2 separate regions of the Homo sapiens genome follow, and region 1 is linked to region 2. The links are contacts of gene promoters, found by promoter capture Hi-C in human tissues and cell types (Jung and others, 2019). All regions are on one chromosome and are shown on one strand. Each heading gives the region's core, a stretch centred on a gene start or on the middle of the fragment in contact. The rest is flanking DNA. Distances are from core to core; before and after follow the strand shown.

Region 1 (4,970 bases), core at 49-2,548, 200 kb after region 2:
CCTGCCTCTGCCTCCCAAAGTGCTGGGATTACAGGCATGAGCCACCATCCCTGGCCTATGGTGCTGTTTTTAATTTAACTATGTTTTGTCCAAGAAGCGCTAACTGGAGACTCTAGCAGTGGGAACCTGGAAGCCGTTCCAGGAGATGAGAGTCTATGAAGAGGGATCGATGTGAGGGGATTAGAAAGTGTGTTGGAACCAAGAATGTTAAAAGGCCAAGTGAAGAGTTAAAGAGTTAAAAGGCGGAATGCAGAGTTAACAATACATCGAATCAAGAAAAATGAGGGCAATCTCATTCATTTTTATCACTGATCTCACTAAGCTTTTTTATTCTATTCTGCAAATAGAGGTTCTATAGCTTCAAGACAGAGTGTCGGCCCTGGAGTCAGGAAGATCCAGGTTCAAATTTTAGCTCCACCTTGGACTAGTTACGGGGCCCCAGGCAAATTACCTCTCCAAGCCTCAGTTTCCTCATCTGCAAAATGGTCATCACAGCATGTCTCTTTCATTGAGTAGCCGTGAGGATTCAATGAAATAGTCCTTGTGGAGTGCTTAGTGCAACTCCTAACTCAACACTTAAAAGATGCCAGCTCTCATTTATTCATCAAAAACACGATGCCCACGATGTGCCAAGGAACCCTTCTTGGTGCTTGACAGGCACTGATTCAGTTGCTCTTTGTACACTGGGAAGAAGGGACTCCTATCTCCCCCACTTTACAGATGAGGAAACTGAGGCACAGAGAGGTTAAGAAAACTGTCTGAGTCATGCAGCTTGTGAGTGCCAGAGGCAAGTTTCAAACTCACGCATGACACCTCTGGGCTCCCTGTTGCTGCCGCTTACACAGTTTTGGGTCACCTGCTCCATGCTGAGCCTGGCACTGGAGCATCAATGCAAACGGGAAAGGAGTAAAACCACGGTGCTATCTTTACGTTGCTTGCCCTCTTAGTGGAGGGCTCACTCTCTCCTGGAGCCCACACTTACAAAGTAGAACATAATTAAGTAGGGCAGCATCCAAGCAACTTGAAAATGTCAGTCAGTAAACATCTCTTCTCCACAAAGAAATCAATAGCCCTCGGAGGTGATCTTTGCTTTCTTTTTTCTGTTTCTTTCCTTTTTTTTTTTTTTTTTTTTTTTTTTTTTGAGACAGAGTCTTGCTCTGTCACCCAGTCTAGAGTGCAGTGGCCCTATCTCGGCTCACTGCAAGCTCCACTTTCCACTTCCCAGGTTCACGCCATTCTCCTGCCTCAGCCTCCAGATTAGCTGGGACTACAGGCGCCCGCCACCACACCCGGCTAATTTTTTGTATTTTTAATAGAGATGGGGTTTCACCATGTTAGCCAAAATGGTCTCGATCTCCCGACCTCATGATCCTCCCGCCTCAGCCTCCCAGAGTGCTGGGATTACAGGCGTGAGCCACCACGCCCGGCCCACTTTCTTTTTTCTTTTCTTTTCTTTTTCTTTTTTATTTTATTTGAGACAGGGTCTGGCTCTGTCACCCAGGCTGGAGTGCAGAGGCATGATCTCGGCTCACTGCAGCCTCTGCCTCCCGGGCTCAAGCCATCCTCCCACCTCAGCCTCCCAAGTAGCTGGGACTACAGGCAAGTGCCACCACGCCCAGCCAATTATTTGTTTGTTTGTTTGTTTGTTTTTTCATAGAAATGGGGTTTTGCCAGGTTGCCCAGGCTGGTCTCAAACTCCTGAGCTCAAGTGATCTGCCTGCCTCAGCCTCCCAAAGTGCTGGGATTACAGGCATGATGAGCCACTGTGCCTGGACTACTTTCTCTCTGAGGGTGAGATGAACAGAGACCCAGTAAGACATGTGTTCGTTATTTTAAACTGCTGACATTTGTGGCATTGTTTGTTACTGCGGTATAACCTATCCTACCCTGTTTAAGGCCCCCTCTTAATACTACTTTACATCTCATTTGTACAGGATGTGTTCAGAATGGATGCGCAATGAATCCTTCTTAAGTTGAGGTAAACTCCATCAACTGAATTGCTTCAGGGCTGCAGAAGCTGAAATGGGTATTTTCATCTCTTCATCCAGAAAGGCTTCATTTGGGACACCTGTGGGAATGCCTGTTCCGCTTTCACGTTAGCCAATCTTTAAAGCTTTCATTAGCTATGATAAATTATTCAAAAAGGAGGAACACTTGAAACCTCTTTAGAATATTGACGTGGACCGACAGTAAATGAATGGAAAAGTACCTCCAGGTTCGAGGCTAACTTTCATTTAATTTTTTAGAGGAACCAGTCGAGTTGTTAAAATGATCAGAAACGGGCCTGGCCAGAGCCAGCTCTTCAAAGAGGGGATGTTATTACCTCCTTGACCATTCACTTAATCAGATCTGGTCGATGTCAAGAAAACAAAATTCCTCGTGCGATGGTGGGCTCAGGATATAATTAACAAGCGGATTTTACTTTTACCCAGAAACCCCTTAAGAACTTTTTTTTTGGAAAAGTAGGCTTCAACGAAATAAAAAAATTTAATGTACAATTTAGTTTCATTTCTGAAATCTTACACGATATTTTATAGGAAGCCTTGGAGACCCCCATCAGAATTCCTCTCCTTGAGTTCATTTTTATATCTTCATGTTTTTCTAATGAAACGGTATTAGATAATAGATGTCCCCGAAGGCCATATCAAAGTTATAAGTATCTGACATGTTTCTTCTCCTGAATTTTGGAGATGTTGTCAGACTATCTGCATATCTAGGGAAGTATGAGTGTCGTGGGGACTCAAGGCTTGGATGTATTGGGAATGGGATGGCAGGTCCATGATGAGCCAGATGAGGAGACAGCAGAGATTTACGGGAGGCAGAATCCTAACCCAAAAGTACCCCAAGGCTGACCCAGCATGGCAGATCTCCAGGTTTTTGTGATCCCAAAACCAAGAACCACATATGACTCAGCAACTCCATTCCTAGGTATACATCCACGAGAACTGAAAACGTGTGTCCACACAAACACTCCTATGAGCGTTCACAGCAGCATTATTCATGAGAGCTGAAAGGTGCAAATAACCCAAATGTCCAACAAAAGGTGAATGAATAAACAAGATGTGGTCAATCCATGCAATCAAATATTTTTAAGCCATAAGAGAATGAAGTAATTGCCAGACACGGTGGCTCGTGCCTGTAATCCCAGCACTTTGGGAGGCCGAGGCAAAAGGATCACTTGAGCCTAGGAGTTCAAGACTAGCCTAGGCAACATAGTGAGACCCCATCTCTACTACAAAACATTAAAAAATTAGCTTGGTGTGGTGGCACATGCCTGTGGTCCCAGCTACTCTGGAGGCTAAGGTGGGAGGATCGCTTGAGCCTGGGAGATGGAGGCTGCAGCGAGCCATGATTGCAACACCACACTCCAGCCTGCACAACAGAGTGAGGCCCTGTCTCAAAAAAGAGAATGAAGCACATGCTACAACATGCATGTCCCTTGAAAATGTGATGCTATGTGAAGCCAGTCACAAAAGACTACACGTTGTATGATTCCATTCATAGGAAATGTCCAGATTAGGGAAGTCTGTACATTAGGAAGACAGAAAGTAGCTTCGTAGTTGCCGGGGACTGTGGGAGGGGAAGTGGGGAGTGACTGCTCGTGGGTAGGGGTTTCTTTTGGGGCTGATAAAAATGTTCTGGAATTAGGTTACGGTGATAGTTGCACAACCTCATGAATATGCTAAAAAACACTGAATTGTACACTTTAAAAGGGTGAATTTTATGATCGATGAACTTTATCTCAAAAAAAAAAAAAAGAAATACGTGGGAGAAAAAGAGTCACGGGGCGCAGAGGGTGGTGATAAGAGGAGCCGTTCTAATCGTCGCGGCAAAGCAGAGGCAGGCAGTGAGTGGGGGGCTTTCCGGCAGCTGCCCTCTCGAGCCAGTCGGAGCCGTCTCAGGGTGTTTCAGCATCATCGTGGCTTTCTCTCTCCGTCACCGCTCAGCAAGCTCCTCGGGGAAATGTGCGTCTCTCCTGAGTCCAGGGAGTCAAAACCAGGAGAAAGTCTGTGCCGTTATGACTGGCTGACTGGCGCTCACTGTCGGTTTCGTGACGAGGGGTGGCACGCACAGGTGAAGCCAGGTGTGAGGGGTCAGGCAGGTGACGACACATTCCGCAGTCCAGAGAGTGGCTGGGTCCCTTCTCCGCAGGCTCTTGGGGCTCTCCTAGGACTGAGAGGGTGATTTAGGATGGCCATCCTCCATAAAACCTACACCTCCCCGGGAAGGAGCAGAGGCCTCCCCAGATAGTGGCCGTTTACCATGCCCTGGGCTTCCTCAGGAGGGCTATGACGGCCTGGCCTGCTCCGACACAGACTGCTGATGAGTTTATGTACTTGGGCTGCAAGGTCTCTCCTAAAGTTTTTTTTGTTTTTTTTGTTTTTTTGTTTTTTTTTTGAGTGGAGTCTCGCTTTGTTGCCCAGGCTGGAGTGCAGTGGCTTGATCTCGGCTCACTGCAAGCTCTGCCTCCCGGGTTCATGCCATTCTCCTTCCTCAGCTTCCTGAGTAGCTGGGACTACAGGCACCCGCCATCACGCCCAGCTAATTTTTTTGTATTTTTAGTACAGACGGGGTTTCACCATGTTAGCCAGTATGGTGTCTATCTCCTGACCTCGTAATCCGCCCGCCTTGGCCTTCCAAAGTGCTGGGATTACACGCGTCGGCCACCGTGCCTGGCCTCTCTCCTAAACTTTTTCTCTGCGCTGAAGAGAGCTGTCCTCTGAGCCCTTCCTCTGTCATGCCCTGCTTTTTAGAATGATCTCGTCCAGAAAGCTTTCGTCGACTCTCTCCATGTGGTAGTTTTCAAAATTGGGACAATGGCCGGGCATGGTGGCTCACACCTGTAATCCCAGCACTTTGGGAGGCCAAGGCTGGTGGATCACTTGAGGCCAGGAGTTTGAGACCACCATGGCCAACATGACAAAACCGTCTCTACTCAAAATACAAAAATTAGCCAGGTGTGGTGGTTT
Region 2 (5,367 bases), core at 1,814-4,313:
AGTGAGCTGAGATGGCGCCACTGCACTCCAGCCTGGGCGACAGAGCAAGACTGCGTCTCAAAAAAAAAAAAAAAAAAGAAAAAGAAAAAGAAAGAAAAAAGAAAGGTAGACCTTTTTGGTTTAAATCAAGTATACCCGCAGAGGCTAATTGATTGCAGACTTTCTATCTAAGATCTAGTCCTTTGGTGTGTGGGTGAACATAAGGACACACAACTGGAAAAAGCCCCTTTTTTTCATGTTAGGAAAAAAAACTCTCAAAAAATAAAATTCTTAAAATCCTAGGAGGCACCCCAGGAGTTTCTAAAGCAGCTTCTTGAAACCTCAAAAATAGAGGGATGAGAAGGGGCTCAAGGAATGAGTCTTTTCTTTTCTCCTTATTAGATTTTTTTGTTTTGATTTGATTTGAAGATTCCGGTGTGTGGGAATAATCTCACTGAAGAGCAAAATGAGTAACACTGGGTCACTTTGTTTACTACACAAACACACTCACACGCATTCATTTACAGAACACTTACTACGGGCTAGGGCGGCAAGGACGCAAAGATGAATGACATAAAAAGCCGGATAACCCTCCTTCCCCCACCCACAAGTTCCCAGTGAAGTGGGAGAGAGACATATAAACAGATAAATTACTGTTTCTTCTGCTGAGTGCTATACCAGAGGTGTGAGTGCACGCACACGTGTGCGCACACACACACACACACACACACACACACGGCCCTCTAAATAGAGCTACTCTTAACTGTTTGCTCAGAAGCCCTAGTTCCAAAACATTCCCATCCTCTCTATTTGTGTATTTGCATATATGACTTTTTGATTGAGGTAAAATTTACATAACATGAAATTAAGCCCTTTAAAGTGAACAATTCAATGGCACTTAGTACATTCACCGTGTTGTGCCACCACCACCTCTGTCTAGTTCTAAAACATTTTCATCAGTCAGCACAAAGTAACACCCGGCACCTATTAAGCAGTTACTTCTCATTCTTCCCTCCCCACAGCCCCTGACAAACACCAATCTGCTTCCTGTTTCATGGATTTATTTATTCTGGATATTTCATATAAATTGAATCGTATAATATGTGACCTTCTATGTCGGGCTTCTTTCAACTAACATAATGTTTTGGAGCTTCATCCACGTAGTAGTAGCATGTATCAGTACTCTTCACGGCTGAGTAATATTCCATTGCATACTGCAATTTGTTCATCCAATCATCTGTTGATGGACATTTGGGTTATTTCTGCCTTCTGGCTACTAATGAACAGTGCTGCTATGAACATTCATGTACAAATTTTTGTTTGGATATTTGTTTTGGACATATACCTAGGAGTGGATTTGCTGGGTCGTATGGTAATCCTATGTTTAACTGTTCAAGGAACTGCTAATATGTTTTCCACAATGGCTGCACCACGGCATCCCCCTTTTCAAGACCCACACAGCTCTGTAGTTTTGATGCTCTCCCCATAACGTAACTGAAAGACTGCAAAGAACTGAATCCTGGTTTGCAGATACACTAAGCAGTTCTAAGTGCCTTGGTTGGTCCAGTTGGTAAGAACTTGTGTTAATGAGGTTAAGGTCAGGGTTCGATCCCCGAACTGACCCATTAGCTGAGCAGAGCGGACAGAGTGAAGAATTGTGTCTTCCTGCCACATGCTCCACCATCAAATCCTGCCCTCTTGCAAAAGCTTGTTAGTGGTCACAGGGGAATGGAGCAAGACTGTTTTTATGGTTCCACAGAAAAGGGGGGAGAAATCTATCATCCAAGGCCTCCTGAAGGCGCAGCAGGAGGAACTTGCAATCAGATGATTACTTTCTTCCAGTCCCGCTGTCACCTGGTTTCTGCGGGCCCCTTAAGTAAATTGCTTAACCCTATGCAGAGCCTCAGTTTCCTTATCCCTAAAATGGGAATAATAATCCTCACTCACAAGAGATAAGAATGCATATAAAAGCACTCTACACGCAGTTTTTGCTTGGTTCTTATGGGCTTCCTGTAAGAACCTGAAGGGTGGGCAGCCTCATTTTTCCTCGCAGCACCCCACTGGCTTCTGCAATCTGCTCTTTGCTGCTCTCCGGAGGTTGACTGAGCTGGAATGATGGCGCCCTGTTGACCAGAGGGTTGCTGGCTGTTTTAAATTGTCCTATTTGCATGGAATGAAGTTTGCTATGGTAACAAGGTCTGGTGGCTGGAATCCAGGGCCCCAGTGAAAAATGCAAAGCCTGTGGTCTGGGAGAGAAAGAGGAGCTGGAGAGGGCATATCAACGTCAGGTTACCTCAGTTCTTCTGTGAAGAGGGGATGGGTAAACTGAGGCAGCAGGGCTCAACTCTTCTGCTCCCAGTAGAAGAAAGGGAAGAAGCCCCATCGACGCCTTCCTTCTTATCTCTCAACCTCATCTCTGTCCCCGCCAATATTCAGCCCGGCTAAGAAGCTTAGGAGCTGGCTAAGGCTGCTCCTCCACCTGGATGCACACACAGGGCTAGGGCTGTGGAGAGGCGGGAGCACCAGCGGCCCACGCCGAGGAAGATAGGCGCTCCCTCCTGGGGTGGGCAGCGCAGGTCTGGCCTGCGGGTGGGGGGTGGAGAGTGAGAGGCACGCGGGGCACCAGCTCAGCTCCCCTCTGGGGATTTCGTACTCGCAGTTTAAGGAACCGGTGGAGCACGAACTCCACTCCTGAGCTGGCGCAAGCGTCTCCCTTCCATGGAGATCCACCCCGGCTCCCCTCTGAGGCCCCCTTTCCAAGCACCCTCTCTTCCGAGCACCCAGCACCTCCCCAACCTTAGCACGGCTCGGGGCACCAGTTCTCCAGGGCGGGGGCTGCCCCACCGCTCAAGGGAGGGGACAGAGGGCCGGCCTCGGTCCAGGCGACCCCTGCCCCTCGCCAGGGGCGCCACCTTGGCCCCCTCCCGACTGCCGTCCGCCGCCTCCGCCCCCCCGGGGGGTGTGTCTCCGAAGTACGGGGGCGCGGGAGGCCAAGGGTGCCCCCAGCCTCCGACCGAGACCCCCTCCCGAGCCGGCGGCGAATGGTAGGCTCCATTTAAAGAGTGCCTGGTGGCGCGCGGTGTCCTTCTTGGAGCAGCTCTCGGCGCCCGCCCGCCGGGGTCTCGGCGATCGCTGCTCCTCCTCCTCCTTCTCCTCCTCTTTTTTCTCCTCCGCCTCCTCCCCCCGCCGCCTCGCCACCGCCGCGGCTAGGGCTGGAGGCGCCGCTGTCATTCCTGTGCCGGAGGAACCGGCGCTGCCGGTGCCTGGGGGTCGGGGCGCGGGCGAAGCCGGGCCGCGGAGGACACAACAGGTAGAGCCGGGGGTGCCCGGCCGCGCGCCCCCCGCGCATCATGCAGCTCTTTGTCACCTCTCTCGCCCCCAGGCCAAAATCCTGAGCATGATGGAAGACAATAAGCAGCTCGCGCTCCGCATCGATGGGGCGGTCCAGTCGGCCAGCCAGGAGGTGACCAACCTGCGAGCCGAACTCACGGCCACCAACCGGAGACTGGCGGAACTGAGCGGCGGCGGCGGCCCCGGCCCGGGCCCGGGAGCCGCGGCCAGCGCCTCGGCGGCGGGGGACTCGGCGGCGACGAACATGGAGAACCCCCAGCTTGGAGCGCAAGGTAGGATCGCCCCGGCGCCCAGGGCGGAGGAAGGCGAGCAGAGCACGCCCGGCCTCGGAGGTGGCCGGGGACCCGGGGTCCCCCACACCCGGGGCGAAATCGCTTTGCATTCTGGCTTGTAACCCTTTCCGCCCGGCGGTGGCCACCGCTGCTCTCCGGCTGGGAGTTGCAGGCTGCTGTCATTCACGAAAACCCGAGCGCAGTGTGCACGGGGTCACACGGTCACACCGGCCCCGGCCAGCCTGAGCGAGGCGCAGCCGGCGGGTCCCTTCCGGCATCAGAAAGTGCCCTTTCCGTGGCACCAGCCCCCTAGCTCCGTGCAAACTTTTCATGCCGGGGCCTTTTCCCCACCCCCCGCAGGGGTGAATGGCACAGTTCCCCCCACTTCCTTAGGCTCCTTCCCAGAGAGAGCTCCGGGCTCTGCCGCCGTGGTTGGGATAGAGGATTGCACTGCTGTGCACTTTTCTCCGCGGATGCCAAATCCCTTGGCTCAGTTGCATCTGGACTTTATTTTCTTCTCATTTGAGGTCTCTCAGGCATTGGAATCTATAGATGCAACAGTAGATGCTCAGCTCAGCAGGGAGTTTAAATTTCCGCAAATATAAACACCGAGAGCACTTTCCAGGGGGATACTGTAGACCTCAAAGGTTGAGCGGTAGAGAAATGAAGGCTTAGGGTGGTGGGCTGCAGGGAGCCCGTTTGAAGGGACTCTGCGGTTTAGAGAAGAGGAAGAAAAAGACAGTTGGTTTGTGTTCACATTGACAGAGATTAAGCTCTGAAACCCCCTGCAAGACATAAAGGCGGATGGGGCATTCCCTAAAATGTACTGTTTGGTTTCTGTGACTTAGAAAGTAAAAGGGTAAGCAGGCTTTGGGGGATTTTTTTTTTCTTTTTGCCTAATTGCCCTTTAAGAAACAGTATCACTGGTTATTAATATCATTTGAATTGCAAATTAAACTGCTGAAATCCAGAACAGGACAGAAACAAATCTCCAGTCCATGAGGTCCACTTGTCTAAATATGTCACTTGAAGTGCAAGGTACCAATTGCTCAGTGGCTCAAAATGATTTTCTGGTTCTGTTGTCATTTCAAGAGCTTCTCTTGAGGGTTGAGAGAGTCTGTTTTCCTAAGAATCTGGTTCTCTCCATCAGTCTCTGTTTCCACCTTATCTTCCTGGGAAGGTGTGCTTTCTTTGAGGTGAGATGTGAAGCCTGCCCACGTGCAGTTTTATGTCGAATTCCAAGTCAGATCTTAACTTGGTACTCCCGGAGCCTGTTGGAAGTCTTAGGAATTGGGGGGAGTACTTTGGTAAGGAAGTAGCCATGACGTAATGGTGAGAAGGTGTTGTGGTCCTAGTGCTTGCTGCAAGCTTGACATGTGGTTATTCTTGTCATCCTTGCAATGTCATTGTGTGCGAAAGAACATTCTCCACTGGAACCTGTGCAAAAAAAAAAAAAAAAAAAAAAGACAGACTGCAAGGTAATGCTTCACTTTTTATAGGCAGAGGCTCTGCTAACATTAAAGAAATAGCTAAGAACTGGCATTTTGCTAAGAATCAAAAGCTGTATAGTAAAGGACACTGAACAATGCTCGTTTATTTCCCACTGTCTGCCCCTTTCTCCGCGAAGGAAAAGTTAAGTGGCTTTTTATCTGAGTCCTGGGTCTGGTTGTAGACTGGGCAGGCTAAGGCAGTCAACGCAGTAATGATGTCCACATGCTCAACTTGAAAACTGACATACTCGCGGATGGTTAAATTGTTGTAGTGG

Evidence for each region. The method cuts DNA at HindIII sites, captures the fragments that hold promoters and counts their contacts. A contact is called where the count stands out against the background at its distance.
Region 1: a fragment that was not itself captured here is called in contact with the fragment with the promoter of KAZN in region 2 in 1 of the 25 tissues and cell types used here (H1 embryonic stem cells).

Annotation. Positions count from the first base shown.
Region 1 is chr1:14,797,305-14,802,274 of GRCh38, forward strand. The region is part of intron 1 of KAZN (kazrin, periplakin interacting protein); the gene reads left to right. It overlaps LOC105376759 (a long non-coding RNA gene), which reads right to left. Exons shown (of 3, transcript XR_001737612.2): 3 at 4,103-4,173. Among named protein-coding and RNA genes, the nearest start is that of KAZN, 200 kb to the left of the region's middle. The HindIII fragment of the contact is 4,289 bases long and covers 1-3,443 here.
Region 2 is chr1:14,595,622-14,600,988 of GRCh38, forward strand. It overlaps KAZN (kazrin, periplakin interacting protein), which reads left to right and starts at 3,064. Exons shown (of 15, transcript NM_201628.3): 1 at 3,064-3,602. The coding sequence starts at 3,377. RefSeq lists a silencer at 3,731-3,890. The HindIII fragment of the contact is 4,572 bases long and covers 2,058-5,367 here.